7 separate regions of the Homo sapiens genome follow, and all the other regions are linked to region 6. Evidence: promoter capture Hi-C in 16 types of primary human blood cells and fetal thymus (Javierre and others, 2016). All regions are on one chromosome and are shown on one strand. The core of a region is centred on a gene start or on the middle of the fragment in contact, and the rest is flanking DNA. Distances in the headings are between cores, read along the strand shown.

Region 1 (3,759 bases), core at 561-3,060, 350 kb after region 6:
GGAGAGCTTTGTAACCAAGCTCAGAAATTCCTGTCTTACAGCTGCTATCTCTGAAATAGAATCTTATCCTCAGGGTTGTGTTGAAAATGAGCAAACTTGATTAAAAGCAATTAGGTCAGGAGTGTTTTTTTTTGTTTTTGTTTTTTTTGTTTTTTGTTTTTTGTTTTTTTTGCAGGGTGACAGAAGTATCAGGGAGGGAGGGAAAGGATAGAGAGGGAGACCAGTGGTGTCTGTCAACTGCTACACTTGATGGTGTCCCTCAGGTCTCTGAGGCTCTGTTCACTCTTCCTCATTGTTTTTCCTTTCTGTCTCTCAGACTAGATAATCTTATGACCTGTCTTCAAGTTTGCTGATTTTCCTGCAAGCTCTAATCTGCTATTATTGTACTTTTCAACTCCAGAATTTATATTTGGTTCTTTTTTAAAAATAATTTTAATCTCTCTCGATATTCTCTATTTGGCAAGCCATTTGTTCTCACACTTTTTTTTTAGTTTTTTGAATATATTCAAAATAGCTAATTTAAAGTCTTTGTCTAGTAGGTTCAATGTCAGGGCTTCCTTAGGGACAGTTTTTATTGACTGTTTCCATGTTCCTACCCTGCCACCCCCACACCACCATGTATGGCCTATAGTTTGTTTGCATGTCTTGTAATTTTTTGTTAAAAATTGGACATTTTAAAGAACATAATATGGCAACTCTGGAAATCAGATCCTGTCCCCCATCCCAGGGTTGCTTTTGTGGTTGCTATTTGTTTAACAACTTCTCTGATATAATTCCAGAAATTCTATAATCTTTCTTGTCCATGACCACTGAATTCTCTGCTCAGTTTGCTGAATGGTCAGCTAATGATTAGATGGATATTGCTTTAAATTCCTTGAATCATTAAGACTCCTAGCCTTTGGCAAGGGGCTCTGTGTACAAGTTAGGGTACATTTCAATGCTCTGGCAGGCAATTTACAATTCTGCCTTCACTTCTTGCTTGAGCCTCAAGGTCAGTTAGAGGTGAGAGCCTTATCAGATCTTTCTCAGACCTTCTAGATTTCCAGGAATCTGTCTGAGCTTTTCAAAGCCCCCGTGGACATTTTGTCCCTCAGCTTTTCCTTTTAAGCTTTTTGGTCGGCTTCTTTTCCCCTCAACTCCCTTCTTTTCCTTATTGCCTTAGGAAACTGCAGTTGTAAACAATTGCTGCAGGTTGTTTGTCTTAACAAATGCTCCAGGGAAAAGGCTGTTGGTAATGAGGGAGCTCTGAGTCAGGTCAATGAAGACAAACTCTGTGAATGAGGGTTTCCAGGGAATCGCCCTTAGGTCAATTAACAACAATTCTCTGGTAGTGGAGCTTTTAGCGGAACTCCAAAACCATTCTGTCCCCTCCAGAGGTGGCTAGGCTGCTGGTTTTCACTGTGATTTGGTGCTGTGGTTTTTGAGTCTACTCTGGAGCTGGAAAGAAGGGGAGATGGGAATCAGAATGCCACAAAACTATTCTTACTGAGATTGTGCTGTTTTTCTTGAATAAATGCTCCTTAGATTATTATAAGCCTTTAGTTAATTTCAAGAATTCTGAAAAAGTTGATTTGATAATTTTTGCCAATGTTCTCATTGCTTTTATGGAGAAGCAGATTTTTGGAGGTCTTTATTCTGCCATTCCCACTGATGTCAGAATGTGCTATTGCTTAGGAATGGGGATTTGAATGATCCTCTGTGTGAATCTATAGCTCATGGGCTCCAGGGATGTCTCTGGAGTCCTGGCCAGGCAGATGGTCTCCTTCTGCCACACGGGTGGTTGGGACATTTGGTCCTTGAAGGAGCACCTGAAGGAAGCTGCCTTTGTGTCTCTTTCAGGCTCCTCTGAGGAGAGGCAGGTCATGGATCATGCCTTCCTCCTTCTCAGTTCTGAGAGGGAGCACAGACGACCTGTAAAAGAGAACTTTCTTCACATGTCGGTACAATCAGATGATGTGCTGCTGGGAAACTCTGTTAATTTCACCGTGATTCTTAAAAGGAAGACCGCTGCCCTACAGAATGTCAACATCTTGGGCTCCTTTGAACTACAGTTGTACACTGGCAAGAAGATGGCAAAACTGTGTGACCTCAATAAGACCTCGCAGATCCAAGGTCAAGGTACCAGAACCAGAGGGAGGAGAGGCCTCAAGTGGGCTCAGGGTCCCACAATCTGAAATCCCTCTTCTCCTCTGTGGACAACTTCCATACATTGATAAATTTTTGTGTGTGAGTTAACACAAACATTTATTGAGCACCTACCCCTTGGTAGTCACAAGAAAGCCAGCCACAGAAGAAAAGTGAGCCAAAGAGACCACTGGACTAGGAGCCTGGGTCTATCGTAGAGTTATAAATTAGGGGTGCTGAAAGTGTCATGAGAAGTCTTCTATGGTGGCAGAAATTTTAATCTCAGATGCCCAGTCAGATCAATGATTATGAGTACCCAAGGCACAGTGTTGGGAACAAGTGGGATGTCCTGATGACAACGGGTAATGTCTGTCATGGACTCAGGATGTAAGCTTGGAGAACTTGGCCAATTATTATTCCATCTTGAGCCCAACGTCTTGTTTTCTAAAGAGAGTATGGGACATGTCCAAAGTTATCCAGTTCAATTCACACAAAGTTAATCTAATTCTGTGCTTGATGAGGAGAACTCATACTGGGGGGGTATGATGAATGACCTCTCCCCTCCACCCTGACTCTTTGGCAGTATCAGAAGTGACTCTGACCTTGGACTCCAAGACCTACATCAACAGCCTGGCTATATTAGATGATGAGCCAGTTATCAGAGGTTTCATCATTGCGGAAATTGTGGAGTCTAAGGAAATCATGGCCTCTGAAGTATTCACGTCTTTCCAGTACCCTGAGTTCTCTATAGAGGTGAGCTTCCTGCAGGCCATAAAGGGCTCCTTCTGCCTGGAAGTTGGCCATGGAGTGTGACGGGGCCCCTAAGAACCCTGAGGGTCCTTGGTTGGCTCATGCATATCTTCTCTCCCCATCTCTCCTCCCCACCCTACTACAGTTGCCTAACACAGGCAGAATTGGCCAGCTACTTGTCTGCAATTGTATCTTCAAGAATACCCTGGCCATCCCTTTGACTGACGTCAAGTTCTCTTTGGAAAGCCTGGGCATCTCCTCACTACAGACCTCTGACCATGGGTGAGTCTGCCTGAGGTATTCTTAGAAATATGCTTCTGGACATATATCTTGCACATGTGTGCATATTCCTGAGAAGTGAATTCCCAGTATGGGGTCACAGGGTCAAAATGTAGATACATTTTGCTAGTGCCAAATTACTTTGAGAAAAGATTGCATCAATTTATGCTCTACCGACAGATCTTTTTGATTCTTGCCAATCTAGTGGTTAAGTAATCTCATTGCTTTACTTTGCATCTGATTATTTGTGAGGTTGAATATTTCTTACATTAATTGACTCTCTCCTGTGAATTGCCTGTTCCTAACTTTTGTCCATTTTTCTACTGAGTCATTTATTTTTTCATATTGGTATGGTGTCTTTACACAGTAGAGTGTTATGTGCTGTGAATTTTTTTATAGCAGTTTTGTATTCAATTTTTTAAATTTGATTCTTATTTATTTTGAGGTGGAGTCTCACTTTGTTGCCCAGGCTGGAGTGCAGTGACACGATCTTGGCTCACTGCAATCTCCATCCGTCCCCAGGTTCAAGTGATTCTCCTGCCTTGGCCTCCTGAGTAGCTGGGATTACAGGCATATGCCACCACACCCGGCTAATTTTTGTATTTT
Region 2 (3,766 bases), core at 41-2,540, 400 kb after region 6:
CCTGGGAAGGGCACTGGTCCAGGCAGAGGACAGGGTCTCAAGCCCAAAGGGCCTTATTTTTCATTATTTTTTCTTTTTTTTTTGAAACAGGGTCTTGCTCTGTTGCCCAGGCTGGAGTGCAGTAGCACGATCTCAGCTCACTGCAGCTTTGACCTTCCAGGCTTAGGTGATCCTCCCACCTCAGCCGCCCAAGTAGCTGGAACTACCGGCACAAGCCACCATGTCCAGCTAATTACAAAAATTTTTTAGAGACAGGGTCTCACTATGTTGCCCAGGCTGGTCTTGAACTCCTGGACTCAAGCGATCCTCCTGCCTTGGCCTTCTGAAGTGCTGGGATTACAGGGGTGTGAGCCATTGTCCCCAGCTGTGTTCTCTTTCATGTAAAAAGTAATTGAGTTTGGGCAACTGTGTGGATCCTAAAACCAGAAAACCACAACTAGAAGTTACTATTGTCATGTGTATAAGAGAAAAAGTGCAAAGGGACATCCTTTCCCCCAAGGACATGAAGCAACGAGGCTTGAGTTTTCCTAAATTATGGCCCAGGTGGTTTTTTTGTTTAGTCCCAGTTTTTAAGAAGGTCCCAGCCACCAGAATGTACTGTAAGCCCCAGGGGACCCTGTATAAAAGACTGCAAGAGGAAACCTCTAACCCATAAAAGGGAATCAGAGCTCTTGTTTGGTATTCTCATTACGGCCTATTTATTCCAGACCTTGAGTAGAGACATCATTCAGCAGCTCAGCCTTTCTAAACATGTGCCCCCACAATGAGACTCCATTTGCATAAATCTCCCAAAAGGCCCATCTCCATTCAGGCAGGGCCCCACCCATCCAACCACCTGAGCCCACCTCTCAGAGCCAGAGAGCAGCTGGGCCAGCCCCCAAGACTGAGGAGTCTGATGCATACACTTTCCAGTCTCTGCCTCAGGCAACTTTTTGTTTCATTCTTTTTTAAAATGCATATTATGCTCTTTTGGGCTCATCTCCACAGATTTCAGAGCTCTTTGTTATTAGTTCATGGTAAGGAACTTTGTTCTTTACAATCCTGGACAGACAGCAGGAGATTGAAGGCCTGAGACATTTTTGTCACTGCTGTCATGCTTGCATTACTGAGAAATGCCTATCCCCCTACCCCACGTTCTTACACACTCCACAGGGATGTCTTGAAGCTTCCACACTGCTGCAAGCCTAGCAGGTCAAAATGCACTGACTTTATCTCTCTCATTTCCAAAGTAATACTTGTTCATGGTTTTAAGAAAGAAAATACAGATGAAAAAGTGGAAAAGGAAAAATTCACTCTGATTTGATCACCCAAGACAAGTACTACCAACATTCTGAAACATATTCTTAAAGTCTTTTCTCTTTGTACTAAAGTAAAAACACTTTAAAAAATCTATAGGCTCATAAAAAGCAGATCACAAAGCTTCCAAAATATACATTTGGCCCCACAGTGGAACCAATTTAAATCTGTTTTAAAATAAGTGTGTAGAAGCTGTTAAAGCTTTTCTGCTCTAGTCATGGCAGAACTCCTTCCACATTCTCTGCACAGAGCTCTGAGTTTTCAGTGCAGAAGGAACATAATGGTACTTGTATGTGCACCTGTGTGTATTTAGGGGTGGGGTAGGGTGTGATGTGCCTCCATCAGCCATTCCCCTTAGTAGGTAGCCCAAACTTCTAGTACCTTCCTTGACCCCTGCCCACTTCCTTTTCTATTTTGGAGCAAATTAAGGCTGCTAGGGTTAAATCCTTCTCATATTCCTCATCTCACTGCCTCACTGTCCCTGGACTCACGGGTACCCACTGTCTTGGAAGATGAGGCTCAAGTCAATCCTGGCCCTCAGGGCCCCCATACCATTACCTCCAAGCTTTCTCCTTGTGTTCTTAGCAGGCTCTGAGCTCTCCCTGCCCTTTCATAGCTAAGCTGCTTGAAGCCTTGTGCACCTGATGTCTCTGCTGACCTCTCCCTTACTGTTCATGCACCTGTCCCCTCCATACCAGGGAACTGTTCGCACCAGGTCACTGAGCAACTCACTGTGGCCAAATCCAAAAGTCAATTCTTAGCCCTTGTCTTCCTTGGGGTCTCCTCACTGTCCTTCTCCCTGTCTGTGGGGCTGTGCCTCTCCCCTCCTCTTGGAATCCCGCCCATCCAGGCTACTGGTGTTCCTCAGGGTTCAGGGTTTCACCCCAAGACTCCTTCCTTCCCTGCTCATTCTGCACTCTCTCCTGAACAATCTTCAACTCTACTTCCACCATCACTCGGTGATAATGCTCCAATCACAAGCTCCAACTCAGACCTCTTGAATCTGCAGATCTCTCTATTTGGCTGTCCCAAAGGCACTGTGCACAGCTAAAACGGAACCTGCTGCTTTCTCCCCAAACTGTTCCCTCAAGTCTCCCTTTCCTGGCCCATGGCATATCCATGTACCCTGTCACCTGGGGTAGAAATCCAGTAACCACCACCAATTCCTCTAATCCTCTTCCCCACATCCCATTCACTCCACCAGGTTAATTCTGCCTCAGACTGTGCCTTGAATCCCATGCTCTCCCCTCCATGCCATCATCATGCCTTAGTTCAGCCCATCATCATCTGCCCCAGACTATTAGAGCATCTCCCAGGTCTTCCTGCCTCTAGTCTCTCCCTCAAATCCTGCAACCCACTTCTATCCTTTCTCCCAACTAATTTCCAGAGTAAACTTTCTTAAATGGAAATCTGATCACATTATTCCCCTGGCCTAAAACCTTCACTGGCTCCCTAGGGACCATGGACCAGAGTCCAAGCTCCTGGGCAGGGCTCTTGAGGCCACCATATCTCAGCTCTGGACTACCAATCCAGTGCCACCTCCCTCCGTAAACAGTCCCTCCCTGTGGTCTATTTGGAGTTTCCCAAAGGCAACATTCTAAGTTTTCCTTTCTACCCTCAGGGGCTCCATTTAAGCACCAACCAAACCCTCACCCGCTCCAACTTGCCAGGCACCTCCTTGCTTCTAGCACCCAAATTAAAATGCACCCAGGGATCACCTTCTCTGCTACTTCCTCATGGCCCCAGGCCACATCCAAGGCAGAACCCATTACTTAGCCTTTGTGCTACCACAGCTTGTATGTATAGTATGGAACACGTCATTTAATTACACACCATCTCTCCTACATCACAAGACATTCCTGGAGGACAAGACAACATCTGTCAACTTGTAGCTCAGCAAACTGCTTAGGGCCTGGCACGAAGAATGTATTCAATAACTCAAGCTGAATAATGATACATTTATTGAGCACTTACAGGCCAGGCATAGTTCCAAATGCTTTGTGACAAAACTGTATGTGTTAGTTACTTCTGACAACAAACCTATGAGGTAGAGATTGTGGTATTCCCCATTTTAAACATGAGGTAACAAAGGCAGGGAAGTCAAGCATCTTCCCAAGGTAACACAGCTAATAAGTGGCAGAAGTAGGGTTCTGACCCAGACAATCCAAGTCTAGAACCTATGTCACTATCAGAAGACAAACATATCATTACCAGGTATTTCTGTTAAGTGACTTGGAAAAAACTTTATTTTAATTGCCTGATGTCACAACATCATTCTACCACCACCAACTACCTCAGCACACTAGTATTAAGATTGAAACAGGCCTAGGATACTAAGGCTGTTTCAATAAGTATCTAGGATAATATGATAATATAAAAAGAAACAATGGAAAGTAGTGGAGACAGGTTCTAAAGAAATGCCAATAATTTCAAGGACTCAACATTCCATCCATTTCAAGCAACAAGAATG
Region 3 (3,243 bases), core at 543-3,042, 330 kb after region 6:
AAGCTGGGCATGGCAGCTCATGCCTGTAATCCCAGCATTTTGGGAGGCCGAGGCAGGCAGATCACCTGAGGTCAGGAGTTCGAGATCAACCTGGCCAACATGGTGAAACCCTGTCTCTACTAAAAATACAAAAATTAGCTGGGCATAGTGGCAGGTGCCTGTAATCCCAGCTATTCGGGAGGCTGAGGTAGAATTGCTTGAACCTGGGAGGTGGAGGTTGCAGGGAGGCAAGATAGTGTCATTGCACTTCATCCTGGCGACAAGAGTGAAACTCCGTCTCAAAAAAAAATTAGATCAGGTAGATCTACTTTACAAGATGGCATACAATAGCACTTCCTGGGAGAGCGCTCCTTTTGCTCCTTCTCTGAGTGAACAACAGGCTTAGGGTCTCCTCCAACGTGCTGGTGGAGATCAGTCAGAACAGCCTCCATTCCCTTCATCCAAGATGAAATAAGCACCTACTGTGTGCCATGCCATGAGCTACCTGCTCAACGCATGGACTGGGACCGTGCTGTTGCTGACTTCAGTGACTTTATAGTACCCCTGGGTCCATGTGCATTCCCTCACCCAAAATTTCCTGAGTACTTGCCACATGCCAGGTGTTGCACTGAGCACTCTCCATGTATGACATAGTGTGAATCACTCACTCAACAAATATTTGTTGAGTACCTACTCTGTGCCAGGGAACCCAGAGGTAAAGCAGTTCCTGCCTCCTAGACTTGACTGTACTAGCAGAGAGAGCAGTAAACAAACAAAAGTGCAAGATAATTTCAGACAGGGCCAGATATGATGAAGAAACCAAAAACAAGAGGCTCCTCCAGCAAGACAGAAAGCAGCAGGTCAGGGCGGGGCTGACTCTGTCGGTGCTGACTCTGTCAGGGTTGGAAGGGCTTCCCTGGGAAGTGACCCTGCTGAGACCCACGTCCCACCATGTGAAGAGCTGAGAGCAGGGTGTTCCCAGCCATGAGCACGGCAAGTGCCAGGGCCCTGAGGAGACAACACTTGTGTCACATGCTCTTTGTCATGAGCTAACTCTCTGGGGACCAGAAACCCAGTCATGACAGGGAGGAAAGTGGGGAGCTGGGGAGAAGCCTCACTGAGGGCCACCTGTGGGCTATGGAAAGAGGTTGGATTTGATTCTAGTAGTCCCTGGAGCTCATGACATAAACTGACCGACCTTTCAAACAAGATCCTGCAACAGCTTGCAGGGTAGGCGGTGGCATCTGCCTCCTCCAGACGAGGAGTGAAGGTTAAGCAGTTCCCCTGCATTGCGTGGAGTGAACAAGCATGTTGGTCTGTGGCACGAGCCAGCAGGGTTAAACAAATGGTAACTCGAATGAGCATGTGACAGAGGCAGGAGCTCTAGGGAGACCTGGATCTGATGGGTAAAAAGGGAGGACGTGGAGAGGAGGCAGGAAGCTCATCTAAATTGAACAGAAAACTAAAACTGGACATGTGGGGCAGAAGGAGGCCCCTGCAGAATTAGAGGGGCTGGAGCCAGGGGACAAATGAGCCTGGAAAGGAGGGGTGGGGGCTCCATGAGTGGGCAGTAGGTGGGCCCGAACCAGAGGAGATTGTCTTGGGGGTGGCCCATGGCTGGGCCAATGTTTTCCTTTGGGTGTCTCCAGGGCCGAATCCTAGCATCGCCAAACACACCCTGGTGGTGCTCGACCCGAGGACGCCCTCAGACCACTACAACTGGCAGGCAACCCTTCAAAATGAGTCTGGCAAAGAGGTGAGCACCCACTGGGCTGGCGGGTGGGCTGGCTGGCTTCTGGCGGAATGCTCCTAATGTGAGCAGCCCCTATCCCCTTCCTCACCTGTCAGCTGGTAACATGGTTTAAAGCCATCCACAGCACAGCATGATAGAGGGGCCATGGCTCCAAATGTCTGTTTCCCCACTCAGCCTCCTCCAAGCACACAGTATCGCTGTGGCCAAACCTCCTACATGTCACCCTTCCCCTTTCCATTTCAAAGGGAACAATGTTCACTGGAGGACATGAGCGGAGAGAAGTACATAAAAATAACCCATGGTTCCACCAACTAAGTTACCCATCCTTCCTTCCAGGCTTTTTCTGTGTCATGGTCAAATACAAAATGGGGGTCCATCTCATGCTTCACTCACTTGACAAGACCTAATGGATGTTTTCCACAGTGGCTTCTGCCCGAGTGTGTGGCTTACGGTGGCTGGTTTTCCACCCTTTTTGGGAGCACTGGGTGTTCACAGTTGTCTCCAATCTTCCAGTGTTGTAAAGAACCATGTCTCGGCCAGATCTTTGGACTGGTTTATGGATATTTCCTTGGGCTAAATTCCTAGAAGTTTAATGCTAAGCTAATGCCATGATTTAAAAATGGCAACTACATTGGGTTTTTGTGGAAGCAGAATCTGCTGGTGGAAATGAGATGAATGGGCCAGCTGCTGCTGGAATCCTCGCTAGTGCCCCGGCCTCTTCCTTCCTCTCCCTCCCATCCAGATCCCAGACTCTCAACCCCAATTTTGCATCTGAGTGTTTTTCAGGGTATCATGAAAATCTCTCCTGAGGTGGGCATGGGTTGTGGGCAGGAGCTGCATTTCTTTACTCAAAAAGTGTTATTTTTAATTTTTTTTAATTGACATATAACACACATAAAGGACACAAATCTTAATGGTTTGCACAATGAATTTTTACATATGAATACAGCTGTGGGACCACCAGCCAGATCAAGGTGGAGGCCATTTCCTGCACCCTGGAAGGCTGGTTCTCCTGAGCTCCATTGTAATGAACAGTGAGGGCACAACCTCCTCCCTCTTGCCACAAGAGGGGTATGGGGAGTTAGCCTTGTGGATTCTGGAGTTGTAGCACAGTGAGTTTGATCCCAGCTCCACCTCTTGGGCTACCTCTGTGAACCTCAGTTTCCCCACCAGCAAAATAATGACAATTAAACATTTATATTTATTAGCTCATTTAATTTTCACAATGCTCCCACAAAGAAGGGGGCCTGTTATCATTCCAAACTTTTAAACAAGAAAACTGAGGCACAGGAGAGGTTAAGTAATCAGCCAAGGTCATACAGCCAGTAAGAGGTAGAGCTGGCCAGCCTGGGCAACACAGGGCTACCCCATCTCTACTAAAAAAAAAAAAAAAAAAAAAAAAAAAAAAAAAATTAGCCAGGAGTGATGGTGGGCACGTGTAGTTCCAGCTAGTTGGGAGGCTTAGGTGGGAGAATCACTTGACCCCAGGAGTTCAATGCTGCAATGGCACT
Region 4 (3,554 bases), core at 1,033-3,532, 380 kb after region 6:
CCTGCCTGTCCCAGCTGGGTTAGGGCACCCTGTCAACCACTCTATTTCAAGCCTGTGGCCCCCAGATGGGAAGGGTGCCCTCAGTGCCTAGTGGAGTGTCTAATGCAGTACAGTATAAAGGAAGACCTGCCATGGGGGGGATGGAAGGAAATGTGGTAAAGGCAGCCTTTCAGCCACGGCTGCTGGGCCGCACTCCTGGTGTGATCTGCTATGGCTGCCCCAAGGCTGGAGGACTTGTGTGTGGATGAAGATGACCCAAGTGTAACTGCAAACAAAGAACTGTGCCCTGCACACCAGGGGCCTGACCACTGGGCTCCAGTCTGACTGTGAGCAGCTCTCCCAGCAACACTGACCCTGGGTCCTCCCCATCCCCAGGTGTGGAAATGGTGGGCAGAGCCACCTGCTTACCGTCTCATCTGTGCAGATGGAGTGCACCTGGGTCCCAAACATCACTGATGTGAAAATGAGGAAGAGCAGGCCCTCAAAGCACAGCAGGATAAGGAGAATCACTGTGGTGGGTGGAGAGAAGGAGCTGCACTCTGAAAGAGAAGCAGCACACAGGGATTGGTACTGTCACCCACTGCCTGCTGCCCAGGCTCACTGCCCCACTAGGCGCCCACTCTGCCTCCTGCTTGCAGGCCTTCATTCCTCCTGGGTGCCATAGGTCTCTGGCCTCCAGGCTACGGTGAGAATCATCCTGGCCCACACTGGCTATCTCTCAATCCCTCAGGGAGGCCTCCTCAACAGGCCAGGCCCCAGCCAGGGCTTCCCTTCCCTAACACAAATCATTCCTTGTTCACTGCCCCCAGTGCCAAGCACAGTGCCTGACACATGGAAGGGCCCAGGAAGGCCTCTGAAGTGAGGCATGAACGCCTGACGACACCACAGGGGACCCTGCTCTCCTCAGAGAGCACAATGCAGGTACACAGGTGGAGAGGCCTGTCCAGTCCTGCTATGGCCATAGGTTTTCTGGGCATTCCTGTATGACGTGCTGCCCCTCTGTGCCCCATCAGCTCACAGGCAGCTGTGGAGGATCACTTGGTGGCTTTGGGATTTTAAGCTTGGCAGGGGCAGCTGAACTACTGGGTCTCAGCCTTGACCACAGTGTGAGGTAATGCACTGCCCCCGCTCCCAGGGACATTTGCAGCACCGAGGCCAACAGTGCCAAAGGCCAGGGAGTCGACCAAAGAGGCATGGGCCCAGAGTAGGCACTTTCACTGTCCTGGCCTCCAGCCCCGGGGACCTGAGGCCAGTCCTGCCATCTTCAGGCCTCCACCCACTGCACTGTGAAGCAGTGAGATTTGACTAGAGGTATGGTTTGCTTTTAAGCAGAATCTTTTGTCTGAACAAAGTCTAAGTCAGAAACCCAGCGCATGGAAGAGAAAGGCAAAGGTGCTGTGGAGATGGTGGGGGTGAGCAGGGAGGGGAAGGCCCTGAAGCAAGGTGGCCTGGGAAATGCCAGGCCTGGAAGATGGTGCTGACAGACAGGCTAGGCCCCTTGGTTGGCACTCTTCACCTAAGGACTTCTGTGCCTCAGTGCAGCGGCCCATGCTGGCTGAGCCTGGGCTGTGGTTTATTTCTCGTTGCTTCCATACTTGTGCCTGTTTCCCTGGCTGGAAAGATCAGATCCTGGAGGGCAGAGTCGGGCTTCATTAATTCTGGGAATTAAGGGAGTAAGCACTCCATCCAAGCTGTCCTGCTGGCTCCCCCACGGGAATGTCAGGAGGGGCAAGGGAGGTCAAATGTGGGAATGAGCTTGGAAAGATACCAAGCACCATGTGGGTGACAGGTAAGAAACATCTCATCCACAATGCATATCTCCTCAGGTTTCCCTGGGAACTTATCGATGCCTCAGAATGATTTCTCTTCTTGGCTCCTTGTGGGGCAGGGCTTGGTTGGGGTGGCCACCAGCCTGATGGCCTGGCCGTGGGTGGCTACAAGTATGGGTGGCCTTGGGCTGGGCAGGGTATTGGGGAGAATGAGAGGCTCTGACATCTGGCAGACACCACGAGGTACAAATCCTGGCACCAATTCCTGATCATGAGCTCTAACTACAAGGCCCATACTAATATTCTGTTCCAGCCCCTGTGTCTTTCCTGTCCTTTGCATTGTGGAATTACCTGTTTCTTTCTGTACTGGTTTGATAGGTGCCTCTCCCACTACACTTCAAACTCCAGGAGCGGGGAGACTTTGTTTTGCTTACTGCTGTACAACCAGCCTTGGGACAGTGCCTGACAACAAAAGGATCTGGGCAAGAGGTTTGGGCTTTCTGAGATTTTGTTTTCCTTTCTGTACAGGGGAATACTTAAGAATTCATGAAAGAACATCTGCACAGTTCGGCCTTGGCCTGGCAGGAGCACATGGGGGTGCCTGCTGGACAAAGCACCTCCTTCTTACCTACCTCTGCTGCCCTGGAGCTGGTGGAAGAGCCCAGGGCCATGGCCTATTCTCCCTCCTTGCAAAGCAGCAAGCATCATTCCTCTGTAGGCTGGGCCCCAGGAATTACCAATGGAGTTTGGGGAGGTAGGAATCAGATCAGGGAGTGTGGAACCACCTCCCTACCCTTCTTTAAATATCAACTCAAAGTGCCCTAATCCTGGGGGACAGCCCTCTGCCCCCACTCACACCAGCTCCTATGGCCCAACAGCTCCACCAGGGCTGAGCAGTGAGGGCAGTAATGGTCATATACAGTCAACTCTCAGGCCTCAACTTTGGGTACTGACCTGTGCCTTCCCAGCCTAGCTGCCATAGAAGCTGGGTGCCTGAAGCTCACTCCATCAGGAATTTTGACCACAGTTAATCAAGAGCATGGCTGGGAGGACCCTGACCACTGGAGTCAACCAGACAGGGCTAAAAATCTTGCTCCAGACCTAGGCTTGAACTACAGACCCTCTTGTTAGCTGAGTGATCCTGGAAACTTGTTCATCCTCTGTGAGCCACAGCTTTTGTCATCTGCAAAGTGGGAAGCATCTCTCCTACCTTGCAGGCTTGTTATAAGGGCGAAACAATGCACTGCTCAAAAAGCCCTTTGGGCCATTCCTGGCTCCCAGTAGGCATTAATGCAATGGTGCCTTCCAGCACCATTACAACAACAGGGACATTTTGCCTCACTGACAGTCTGTGCTACCCCTATCACCTGCCCAAGTCTGTTAACTTGACGAGAGGTGGGAGGTGTTTGGGATGATAAAATATCCTAATTGGACTCCCTTGTCAAGTAACCAAGGCCACATCTGGAGTAGATCTGGTTCCCCAGGCCTAGCAGAAGGCATGTACTTCAGAATGCTCACCAAGTGATCAGGAACTTGCTGGCGACTCACCTAGATATGCAGAATGGCAAGTTCTGCACATACCCACTCACCCCTACCCTCCTCTCCTATCTCTATTGTCTGCTGGCTTGACCTCTGCCATTTGACTTATGCCAGAATTGTGGGAAGAAGTCAGCATGTATAGGAAGAGCAAAAGTTCTAAAGACAGTGAAATAAAAAAAAGGAGGCCCATGGAGGGAAAAGCTTAGGAAATACAATGTTCCTTGCTCAAGACGTTTGTCTCACAGA
Region 5 (3,416 bases), core at 202-2,701, 430 kb after region 6:
AGGGCTGCCCAACATAAGTCATAGTCTTCGATAGATGCAGGCACTATCAGAAATGTGGCCACTAGATTGGGGGTGAGGGGCACCCTCTGATCTGGTATCTTCCACTGGACAAACCCAACCAGAAGCCAGCAAAGGGAGTCTAGGTGATACAATTTGAGTCAACCTGGTGAACAGATCCCCTCTCCCAGGGGAGAACAGAGAATCAAAAAGGTGGATTAAATCGGTATTTTGATAAATAATTTGATTGGTTTCTGTTAGGTTCTCTTTCAGTCTTTGAAGGCTATATCCCATTCTTATTAGGTACATATTATAATTTTTATTTCATTGAATATTTACAACAGTTCTGAAGGTAAATGTTATCTCTATAGATGAGGAACTGAGCTCGGGCAGGTTGAGTCGCTTGTCAAGGTGACACAGTAATTGAGTGGTGGCACTGGGATTTAAATCCAGACCTGTCTGATTGCAAAGCCCATACTTGACTCTGAGGCCACCTTCCTGCTGCAGTGAAAGTCATTTCTTCCATTTCCTCAGTAGGGATCCAGAGATCAAGGCAGGAGAGAATCTTTGCTTCCTCTACCTCCTTTTCTTTCCCCCTTTCTCTAAAAGCTTGTGGGGAAACTGGAAGGGAAAGAGAAAGTTCTAATTGACACCTCCCACTCCCCAGTTTTTCTAGAGCTTAAATAGTATATGGCATATACTGCTGTATTGTTTTGGTTGCATTTTTCCCACATTGAGTATAAGTTCCTTTAGAACCCTATATTGCATTTCTTTGTATAGCTTTTGTCTTACTAGTATCATAAACGATTTACTCTGCCCATACCATGCAGAACTTGGAGCAGACTTCAGAATTTTTAGAATCTAGGATTTATCCTCTTTTCTGGCTTACTGGGCTAGATGTGTGTTTTCCTCATCCATGAGAAGCCATTGCTAACCTCCCTCTTAGCCCAGGGATTCTGAAGCCTTGAAGTGCATTTTACTCACCTACAAAATACAGATTCTGAGGCTTTACCCCAACATTCTGAATCAGACTCTCTGGGGCTGGGGCCTGAGAATGGACATTATCATAAAGTGTTGGGAAATTTGGGGGCAGCCACCAGACATTGGCCCATGGGTAAGCCACTGACCAGAGATAAAGAAATCTCTGCTCTCTCCTGCTGAAGTCATATGGTTTCCTGCCTCTTTTTGAATGAGGCTTTGGAGTCAGACTGAGCAGGCACCTTCACCATTTACAATAAGTGGTTTTACTTGCATAACTGAACCTGCTTCCCTTGTGTAAAATGGGGACTTATGCACCTGGAAGTAGAATGGGGTTATGAGGAATGATGAGATAAGAGATGTCAAGCACTTGGGCTGTGGTTAACACAGAAAAAATGCTGGCTCCCTTTCAAGTTTGTTTTTCCATCAGAAGTGTGACTTTGTCTTAAACCATCCACACTAGATCCCCAGCCTTCATAGTGACCTCATTAAAGATTCAGCCTGTGGCTCCTGAGAATTAAACCTCTTTTGATTTGAAGGAATCGGGATTTTTCAATTATCTCAAGAAAAGGGATAGGCCAGGTGCAGTGGCTCACACCTGTAATCCCAGCCCTTTGGGAGGCTGAGGTGGGAGGATCACCAGAGGCCAGGAGTTGGCATCCAGTCTGGGCAACATAGCAACACCCTATCTCTAAAAAAAATTAGGTGTGTGGTGGTGTGTGCCTGTAGGCCTAGCTGCTTGGGAGGCTGAGGCCAGAGGATCGCTTGAGCCCAGGAGTTGGAGATTTCACTCCAGCCTGGGTGACAGAGAGATACTCTGTCTCTTAAAAGAAAGAAAAAGAAAAAAGAGAAGGGGGATCTGTGGCAAGAGCTGGAAAGTCCCCAGACAGCTCTGAGGTACCGCCTCTCATGGGCTCCGTGGATTATCTCATGGCCTGTGTGGCTGTCTGTCTTTATCTCTAGTGACATCTCTGCTTTTCTCTGCCAAGATTTATCCCTTCTCTGCAGCCACTTGCTGTCCAGCTTCCCTTCTTTGTAGAATCTGCCTCTGCCCAATACCTTTACTTTCGTGTGGCCTCTCTGGGCTCCTCCATATCATGACCTGTCAGCTCCTCTTTAACTCCTTTCTTCTCTCAAGTGTTTCTCAGATCAGAGACCAGATTGCAATGAGAGAATCAGTTTGGTCTGGTAGTATTTCACGCCAAAAAGAGTTGGTCACCCTTTGGATTATATGCCTTTGGTTCAGGCACCTACCCCTGGTCCTGGCTGTTGGGGATGGATGGTGACTGTTATGTGGCCTTTACAGGGCTTTAGGCACAATAAAGCTTTCCCAGGTTCAGCCTACTGAGTGCTATGGCTATGACCTGGACATTAAACTGGCCCTCATAGGTTCAGACCTGGCCATGGCAATTGACGAACCCTACCACAGGGCTCTTGGAACCCTGTGAAAGCCATTTTATTGTATGTTCTTGGCTGTTGAAGGGAGTTGTAGCCCAGCTGATGGCTTCCATTTCTTTTCTGTGGATCTTGCTTTCATCATAAGCATTGTTTAGGGGTATAGCATGGAAGAGGGAGATCAGGGCCTCAGCCTGGTTTTCAACTATGAGATTGAGCAGTCAGTATTCGGTTGCTCAGTCTGGCCATGACAGAATTGGAGCCAGCCCTCAGGACTCTTGATTTTTAGCTCTCTGCCCTTTCTGTTTACAGACCCATGGCACAGAAAGCCTTATGCCCAGACACTGCAGGATGCAGAGTTATGGAGCCATATCCTTTCAGAGGAATGCCTGGCTACTCAACAGGGTTGGAAAGTCAAACAAGGATCAACACCTACTTTTGCCTGCTGTGTGATGGGCCCGAGCCTGCAAAGCTGGACCAAATGTGGCCCCTTTCCTAAGGGCGGGGGGCAGTCACCTTCTAGTAGGGGAAGGAATTTAGTCTCACTTCTCCTTTAGGAATCTGGAGTATTAGACAAGTCAAAGCAAGTTAATGAGGGGTTAACATAACCTCAGAGGACCACTTTGAGTCTAAAGTCCTTCCAGATGTGTCAGATTGGTAGCGCCAACTTGTCAGTTTCTATTAAGAAGTAATAGGACTGGGCTTCCTGGGTGTGAGGGAAAGTAGGTCTGTGCTTAAATGTCCTTCCACTCTGTCACAAACAGGAGATTGAAACTTAGGTGCCTCCATTCTTATCTGTAACCTCTCTCAGGGTTGTTTTTGAGGATGCAGTGAGTTAATGCATGCCCCCAGAAGCAGGGGAAGGGAACTGCTTTGGGGGGACTCCTATGTGTTACACTGAAGGACTCCTTTAAATGCTTTATGACGTTTCTGTTCTCTTGTAACTCTGTAAGGTCGGGGTTATCCCTGCTTTCTAGATGAAGAAACAGGCTTAGAGCTATTTAGGTCAAGGTCACAAAACTGGCATGTGACAACAGAGATTTAAG
Region 6 (3,396 bases), core at 320-2,819:
TCTGTGGTTGTCTTTGGCCCAAAGGTAGGTGTCCTAAGGTGCTATATCGAGGCATCATCAAGTGTCTTGCCCACTGGGGCCCAACCCAGTCATGGTAGATCGGGCCAGGCCCACAGTGTTGGTCACAGAAGTGCCTCTGAAGTCTAAACACACTGCTCAGATGGGCCTGGTCCTTACAGCCAATGAAAGCCAACCACTTGTGCATGAAACAGCTCTGAAGAATAAAAAACCTCAATCTTGGTTTCCAAATCCTTGTGTCTCCTATAATAGGAAGCCAGGACTGCAGGACAACACGTGGTCAAGGAGACCTGAAAATCAGGTCTGAGAGCATTTAGCCTGGCCTTGGGAGATTTCCTCCTCAAGAATCCTAAGCTTCTGGGGCCTTGATTTGCCTTCCACCTCAAGAATCCTAAGCTTCTGAGGCCTTGATTTGCCAGTAGGCAATGTCTAGCATCAATGTCAGGCAGAGGCTGGGGTTCCTGGTTTTAAATAGCCAAAACCTCCTTGTGAGATTTCCAAATGGAGAGGGGGACCTTGATGACAGGAAACCACCATTAGGATCAATGGACAAAGATTGCTCCAAGAGATTACTTTTAAGCTTGTGGAAACTCTGGAGCAGGACTTCTGGTGTCTTTGTTTCTATCTTGGCTCACACAGATATATGAGGAACATATGTCAGGGCCAGGGTTAGGCCCAGGGCACCTTTGAAATATTGCCATCCCTAGACAGTCCAGGAGACTGTTTACTTTGGGCCCTGTAAAGGACCTATCTCCTGTGCTATAATAAAGATACACAGTTAACTTCATCACACCCTTTGCCCTTCACCCGTGGTCATTAACACACAGGGCCTGCTCAACCATGTTTGTAACAAGGACCAGTTCATATCCTCCTTCTGTATGCAAACCATTCTTCAAAGTGAAAGTCACCTGGGTACCACCTGCCACCCAGAGGCTAGACAACTGCCTACTAGGTTACAAACTGTCCCCACACCTTCTCAGTTTATCTGCTTCTTGGTCTCCCTAGGAACCTCTACATGGACACCAGAATGCTGGTGCTGTCTTACGAAATATTAACCACATTTATGGGCCAAAATATCACAATTTCTAGACATGCTTCTTCATTTTTAAGATGGGAGATGCTTGCTGCTCCCTTCACTGAGACTTCAGATTGGGCATCACACATGGTATAACTGACTGCTCAGGATATGCCAGGCCTTTTGCTATGTAGTGTCTGTTAACCTCATGCGGTGCTCCCAGCCCTGTGAGGTACGCATTATGCTCTGCATTTTTTTCAGATGAGAAAACAGGCTTGGAGGTTGGGTATCTTTCCCAAGGACACCTGGAGGAGAAGGTGTAGAGCTGGGACGCGTCTGGATCCCCCGACTATGGCCTGAGAGCGGGATGTGAGTGGCCTGGGCCCTCGCGAGACCCCGACCCCGCCCGCGGCAGGTGGCCGGGCACAGCCGAGAAGTAAGCCCTGCCAGCTCTCCCGGGTGCGGGGACGCGCGCGCCCACCTTCGCAAACGAGACTTCCGGGATCCCGGAGGGGGCGGAAGTCGAGGCCTCTCTCGCTTCCGGCTCGGCCATTGTTTTTGGTCTAACGGGCAGTAGAGTGTCCGGCTTCGGTGCCGAGTGCCACCGCGAGTGGGCCGAGACGCGGAGGGAGGCGCGGCCGGAGCTCGGGTCGCCGACGCTGGCCAGGACCGCGCTTCTTCCCGGCGGCAGGCGGCGCGGTCCCCGTGACTCTCAGAAGCCGCCCGATGTAGAGCCGCTTCTTTGTCTCATACCCCTGACCATTCGTGCGTGGCACGGAGCCGGGTATCTGCGGGTACAGCGATGAACAGGGCAGACGTGGCCAGGTGAGCGGCGCTGCTGAAGCCTGGTTTAACACGAAAGGTAGATCGCTGTTTTCCCAGCTCTTGCAGTAGGAAACTGTATGAACTGTCATATTTGGGTCAGACCCAGGCTCAGAATCGCAAACGTGGAGCGTGACTTGGAAATGCAAAAATCCAATTGAGATTTTAAAGTGCTGAGCATTCGGAACACTATGGGAAGCAGGAGAATGGCCTGAACTTTCTACATATATGGGATCTTAGAGCAGAGTTTACAGATTATTTTAAAGTCCTTCTTTGTCTTTTTAAAGAGATTGAGACACAGGGATCTGGGCTCTTGGTGAACTGGAAGCACAGCACAGATGCCCTAGTTACCAGTAAGGTGCTGATTTTAAAACGTTCAAAGTTTTCCTCCACTTCAGTGTCAGCTAAATGTATCATATTCATTCATTTCCCAATTATGTGTGCCATGTGCACACGTGTACAAAGATGACTGGAAGTCAGCTCTGCCCTTTGTATCCTCCCAGAAAGCAGGGGAGACAGTCGTGTAAACCACAAACGATTACAGTGTGAGATGTGCTCTACTAGAGGTTTGAATGAAAAAGGTAGTTTGGGATCACTGAGACAATAACCACCTCTCTAAGCCTAGCGTGATCAGGAAGGCTTTCTAGGGGAGGTGCATTGAGTAAAAAAAGGTCTAGTATTTTCTGATTCCATTTGGTTCCTTTCCTTTGGTGGCCGTGCAGCAGTTTGGAGGGTGAGAGTGGTGAGTTGTGCATAAACCAGTTAAAGGGTTATAGTGAGAGGTACACAAAGGGAAGCTACCAGCACTCTTCCTGATGGGGCAATCAGGAAAACCAAGAAAAAGTTGCCTTTGTTCATGGTCTTGACAGACAAGTTTGCCAAAAGTTGAAGAAGAAAAATTCAAAGAAAGAGTATGTGTGGCTTCTAAGTGTGTCTCTAGAGCTTTAGCTCCAAACTTTCTTTATTTTGCATTTCTATCAGTAGAAGAGGTTTGATCACTTACTCCCTACATTGGTTTATTTGTAATTTAAACATGAATACTACTATACAAATTGTAATGCACATTATAAAACATACATTAAATAGGAGTTAAATAACTTAGTATTTTCTCTTGCACCCTTTGGGATAGCCTGCATTTCCCACATTGGAGACCATTGCTGTCTTTCTAGCATGGGTACTTGGGGTGAGTGGTAGAGGGTGTGGCTGGTTGTGAAGGGGGTAAGGCCAGGTTGTGAAGGGCTGTGAATGCAAGGCATAGACATTTAGATTTTATCCTGTAGGTAATGGGAGCCACTGAAACTTTAAGAAGGGCATCATTTGGAGAGATGCTTACTAAGAATGCCTGGTTGTGTTCTTTTTTCCTGGAGCTTTGTTTTTTAACTCAGTGGAGGATTGTCATCAGCCTGGGGCTGAATACTCCAAGAACTCTGATTTCACTCTTGTTTCTGTAGGCCACACTACCATCACCCCTTTCTCCAACCCTGAAAAACAGTTCCTGAGACCTGAACTATTGACCATCATTTTAATCGGACCAACTGCAG
Region 7 (3,712 bases), core at 1,048-3,547, 310 kb after region 6:
CACCACTGTACTCCAGCCTGGCAGACAGAGCAGGACCCTGTCTCAAAAAATACATATATATATAATCTGGGCTTGATGGTACCTGCCTGTAGTCTTAGTTACTCAGGAGGCTGAGCTGAGAGGATGGCTTCAGCCTGGGAGCTCAAGGCTGAAGTGAGCCATGATTACACCATTGCACTCTAGCCTGGGTGACAGAGAGACTCTGTCTCCCTCTAAAAACAAACAAAATTCAGTCTAGCTCTAGACCTAATGAGAATCTTCATCTTAGCAAGATCCCTAGGTGATGTGTGTACACAGGAGTTTCTTAGAGGCAGAAATCACTTCCCAGCAGTGTCTGAGGATGGCATCACTTCAGCCATCATCACCAGGGCTGGGGACCTGGAGATTAACAACGATGTAGTCCCTGCCCTCAAGGAGCTTGCAGGCTAGCAGAGAAACAGACAACCAGAGGAACAACCACAGGACTGGTACAAAGGTAGGGGAGTAGCAGAGACGGCTTTACAGAGGAGGTGGCTCTGAGATGCTTAACCTTTAGTGCTAGTAGAGGCATCGTTTGTTCTAAGAAAATTTGCTTTACATTCTTTAAAGCATGCAGAGTTGATCAATGCAACACCTCTTGATTTCCTGATAAGAGCTTTCAGAGGGTATCATCTTTGAGCAGCTCCTTACTCAATGGAGTGGTGCAGTGAGACCTCTGAGCCTCAATTTCCTCATCTGCAAAATGGGACAGTTTGTACCATATTGGCGTTACTGAAATTATCCGTGTTTTTTTTTGAGACAGAGCCTTACTCTGTCACCCAGGCTGGAGGGCAGTGGTGCAATTTCGGCTCACTGCAACCTCTGCCTCCTGGGTTCAAACAATTCTCTGCCTCAGCTTCCCAAGTAGCTGGGAATACAGGTGCCCGCCACCACACCCAGCTAATTTTTTTTGTATTTTTAGTAGAGATGGAGTTTCACCATCTTGACCAATCTGGTCTTGAACTCCTGACCTCGTAATCCACCCACCTTTGGCCTCCCAAAGTGCTGGGATTACAGGCGTGAGCCACCGTGCCTGGCCTTATCCGTGCTTTTATTTGAGCCACAAAACCACCCTGTGAGAGAAGCAGCATGGTGTGGAAGGACTTCCATAAAAACTTGCTAAACAGAAGATACAAAAAGAATGCTGCTAAACAGTATGTTCAACTGTGAAATCATTTTTGTTTAAAAAATGCATATACATATTCTATAATTTTTTTAACATTTTAACTATATATAACTAAATAGACATATAGAAAAATGCTCTATTAACACTGATTTTCCTGGAGAGTGGAAATAGCACTTTATACATTTCAACACTTTATTTTCAAGGACGTGTACTTTTTAAATGGGAACATTTTATTTTTATTTTTATTTTTTGAGACGGAGTTCACTCTTGTTGGCCAGGCTGGAGTGCAATGGCATGATCTCAGCTCACCACAACCTTCACCTCCCAGGTTCAAGCGCTTCTCCTGCCTCGGCCTCCCGAGTAGCTGGGATTACAGGCATGCACCACCACGCCCGGCTAATTTTGTATTTTTAGTAGAGACGGGGTTTCTCTATGTTGGTCAGGCTGGTCTCGAACTCCCGACCTCAGGTGATCCACCCGCCTCGGCCTCCCAAAGTGCTGGGATTACAGGCATGAGCCACCACGCCCAGCCGGAAACATTCTAAACATACGTAAGTATAACAGGAGATTAGAAGTCATGTTGATTCTGCGTGGCTTGATTATGGATCATTGTCTTCCTCTCATCGCAGATCCTCATTTTTTCGGTTTTCTGTGATGCGCTTGTCCCCATATGGGGCTCTGGCGTCTTTCTGGGTCTGGAGGTCCCCAGCGCCCTCTGCCGAGGCATCTCTTGGTCCGGCGGTCCTCAGGCTGGAGGGTGGAGCGGAGAAGCCTGGTCGACGTGGATGGACTCGGTGGGCCGGCGCGGGGCCCGTTAGGCATCTTTAATAAGTTTCACCGGGAGCCGGGTGGCCGGGATGGAGACGGCTAAGCCGCGAGAAGTTTACCTTCTACCACAGCGTCCACAGTACCCGGCTTGGCCTCAGGCCTCGGGTCCCGACGTCCTCCCCAGAGCACAAACCTACTACAGGTTAGGCCGGAGGCCGCCACAGCCCAGGGTCTCTGCCACCTGGCCCGCCCCCTCCGAGGCGCCGGAGAGCGATTCCCAAGGGGCCTGCCGGAGCGTGGCGTCACAGGAGCGTCGCGTCACGTGAGGCTGCCATCCAATCGCGGCGCGCGCTCTGCCCTGCGGGCAGCGGGTGCCAGGCACGGTGTCAGCAGGCAACATGGCCGAGAGGCCGGGGCCTCCGGGCGGCGCCGTGTCCGCGACCGCGTACCCTGACACCCCCGCGGAATTCCCTCCGCACCTCCAGGCGGGTGCGATGCGGCGCCGCTTTTGGGGCGTATTCAACTGTCTGTGCGCCGGCGCGTTCGGGGCCCTGGCCGCCGCCTCCGCCAAGCTGGCCTTCGGCAGCGAGGTCGAGCCCGGGGCGCTGTTGGTGCTGCTGCTGCGGGCGGGCGGGCGGGGCGCCGCTGGGCGGAGGAGGGGCGCTGCGGGGCCCGCGGGGCTCTTGGGGTGGGGCGGGGGTGGGCGCAGGGCGCCGCCGCACCCTCGCCGGTCTGTCCCGCCGGGGCCCCGGGCCGCGGGCGGCGCTGCGGTCAGCTGGGGTGGCAGAGAGTGTTTCGCCTCTAATCACGCCAAACCCTCGTCCAGTGTAGGTGGTAAGAGACGTCGGGGACTGAGGCCTCTTCCCTTACCAGGGACCTAAAACCTTTTCTCCGGTTGGGCTAGTTCGCTCTCGGGGAAGAACTACACCTCCTACATCCACCCTCTACCTCTCATTTTAAGTCCCTTGTGCCTGAGCATTTCTCTCCACGTGACTCTTAAGGTGAGAAGCCTCTTGCCCATCCCTTTACTCCGTAATTAACGGGTGTTGTGACCAGATGACCAGTCTGCCCCACTACCAGGAAAATTGGGAGTTTGGGATACTGTAGGCATAAGAGGATACTGACAGAGACGTTCTGGATGTTTTCCTGACGCTGAGAACTCCTAAACTTGCATCCTGGCGTCTGCTAAGGTGTATCTCTGCCTCTCCCTCCCACGTCGTAGACCAGCCTCTGCTTGCTATAGGGGTTTCATTGCGTCTGCAGCCCAAGGTTAGCCTCTGACCTGGACAGTGGTCACTGATTATTTAGGGTTAAGCCTATTTAGGGCTAATCCAGTAGTAGCTGCCATGCTTCAGGTTAGTATCCCATTGGGTGTAGTTCATGGGGTAAGTGGTCGAAAGTAAAATGAATAACTTTGTATGGGCCGTGAAGTTTGTTGTCAGGAACTAGACCTTCATAACCCTTTAAGCAGGTTGCCACTGGCCCATATGCTGCTTTGTGTAAGACAAGGTTGTCCAACTCGCGGCCCAACGCAAATTTGCAAATTTAAAACATGAATTTTTTTGCGATTTATTATTTTTTTTTTAGCTCATCATATATCATTAGTGTTAGTGTATTATATGTGTGACCCAAGACAGTTCTTCCAGTGTGGCCCAGGGAAGCCAAAAAATTGAACACCCTGGTGTAAGTTATAAGCAAGCACCTTTTTCTCAAGACACTATGTGTTCAGCTGCTGAGAAACCATTACAAGTAATAAGTATATTTAGATTCCGCACCCCCCCCCCCCGCCGCCTTGTCTCC

Evidence for each region. Contacts are between HindIII fragments. The CHiCAGO score rates a contact against its expected background, and 5 or more counts as called.
Region 1: a fragment that was not itself captured here is called in contact with the fragment with the promoter of ZKSCAN7 in region 6 in 16 of 17 cell types (total CD8 T cells, naive CD4 T cells, endothelial precursors and 13 more); the score reaches 13.6 in total CD8 T cells.
Region 2: a contact is called between a fragment that was not itself captured here and the fragment with the promoter of ZKSCAN7 in region 6, in 5 of 17 cell types (naive B cells, total CD8 T cells, activated CD4 T cells and 2 more). The highest score is 7.0, in naive B cells.
Region 3: a contact is called between a fragment that was not itself captured here and the fragment with the promoter of ZKSCAN7 in region 6, in 5 of 17 cell types (endothelial precursors, naive CD8 T cells, total CD8 T cells and 2 more). The highest score is 5.6, in endothelial precursors.
Region 4: a contact is called between a fragment that was not itself captured here and the fragment with the promoter of ZKSCAN7 in region 6, in 5 of 17 cell types (total CD8 T cells, naive CD8 T cells, total CD4 T cells and 2 more). The highest score is 8.0, in total CD8 T cells.
Region 5: a fragment that was not itself captured here is called in contact with the fragment with the promoter of ZKSCAN7 in region 6 in 2 of 17 cell types (total CD8 T cells and naive CD8 T cells); the score reaches 5.4 in total CD8 T cells.
Region 7: the fragment with the promoter of TMEM42 here is called in contact with the fragment with the promoter of ZKSCAN7 in region 6 in 5 of 17 cell types (M1 macrophages, M0 macrophages, non-activated CD4 T cells and 2 more); the score reaches 8.1 in M1 macrophages.

What each region holds. Positions count from the first base shown.
Region 1 is chr3:44,908,251-44,912,009 of GRCh38, forward strand. TGM4 (transglutaminase 4) reads left to right here. Exons shown (of 14, transcript NM_003241.4): 11 at 1,840-2,118; 12 at 2,708-2,877; 13 at 3,020-3,156. Among named protein-coding and RNA genes, the nearest start is that of TGM4, 36 kb to the left of the region's middle. The HindIII fragment of the contact is 1,408 bases long and covers 1,107-2,514 here.
Region 2 is chr3:44,949,771-44,953,536 of GRCh38, forward strand. All of the region lies in intron 2 of ZDHHC3 (zDHHC palmitoyltransferase 3), which reads right to left. Among named protein-coding and RNA genes, the nearest start is that of ZDHHC3, 25 kb to the right of the region's middle. The HindIII fragment of the contact is 254 bases long and covers 1,164-1,417 here.
Region 3 is chr3:44,886,061-44,889,303 of GRCh38, forward strand. TGM4 (transglutaminase 4) reads left to right here. Exons shown (of 14, transcript NM_003241.4): 3 at 1,629-1,735. Among named protein-coding and RNA genes, the nearest start is that of TGM4, 13 kb to the left of the region's middle. The HindIII fragment of the contact is 7,378 bases long and covers 1-3,243 here.
Region 4 is chr3:44,928,898-44,932,451 of GRCh38, forward strand. It overlaps ZDHHC3 (zDHHC palmitoyltransferase 3), which reads right to left. Exons shown (of 7, transcript NM_001135179.2): 6 at 409-539. Among named protein-coding and RNA genes, the nearest start is that of ZDHHC3, 45 kb to the right of the region's middle. The HindIII fragment of the contact is 2,449 bases long and covers 1,059-3,507 here.
Region 5 is chr3:44,980,085-44,983,500 of GRCh38, forward strand. The region is part of intron 1 of EXOSC7 (exosome component 7); the gene reads left to right. Among named protein-coding and RNA genes, the nearest start is that of EXOSC7, 5.5 kb to the left of the region's middle. The HindIII fragment of the contact is 1,694 bases long and covers 605-2,298 here.
Region 6 is chr3:44,553,624-44,557,019 of GRCh38, forward strand. ZKSCAN7 (zinc finger with KRAB and SCAN domains 7) reads left to right here and starts at 1,570. Exons shown (of 6, transcript NM_001288590.2): 1 at 1,570-1,858; 2 at 3,307-3,396. RefSeq lists silencers at 1,324-1,373, 1,484-1,623 and an enhancer at 3,136-3,396. The HindIII fragment of the contact is 2,808 bases long and covers 597-3,396 here.
Region 7 is chr3:44,859,615-44,863,326 of GRCh38, forward strand. TMEM42 (transmembrane protein 42) reads left to right here and starts at 2,298. Exons shown (of 3, transcript NM_144638.3): 1 at 2,298-2,502. The coding sequence starts at 2,311. MIR564 (microRNA 564) reads left to right here and starts at 2,274; the gene lies at 2,274-2,367. It also overlaps a transcript of KIF15 not described here. RefSeq lists an enhancer at 1,758-2,347 and silencers at 2,378-2,427, 2,758-2,807. The HindIII fragment of the contact is 26,756 bases long and covers 1-3,712 here.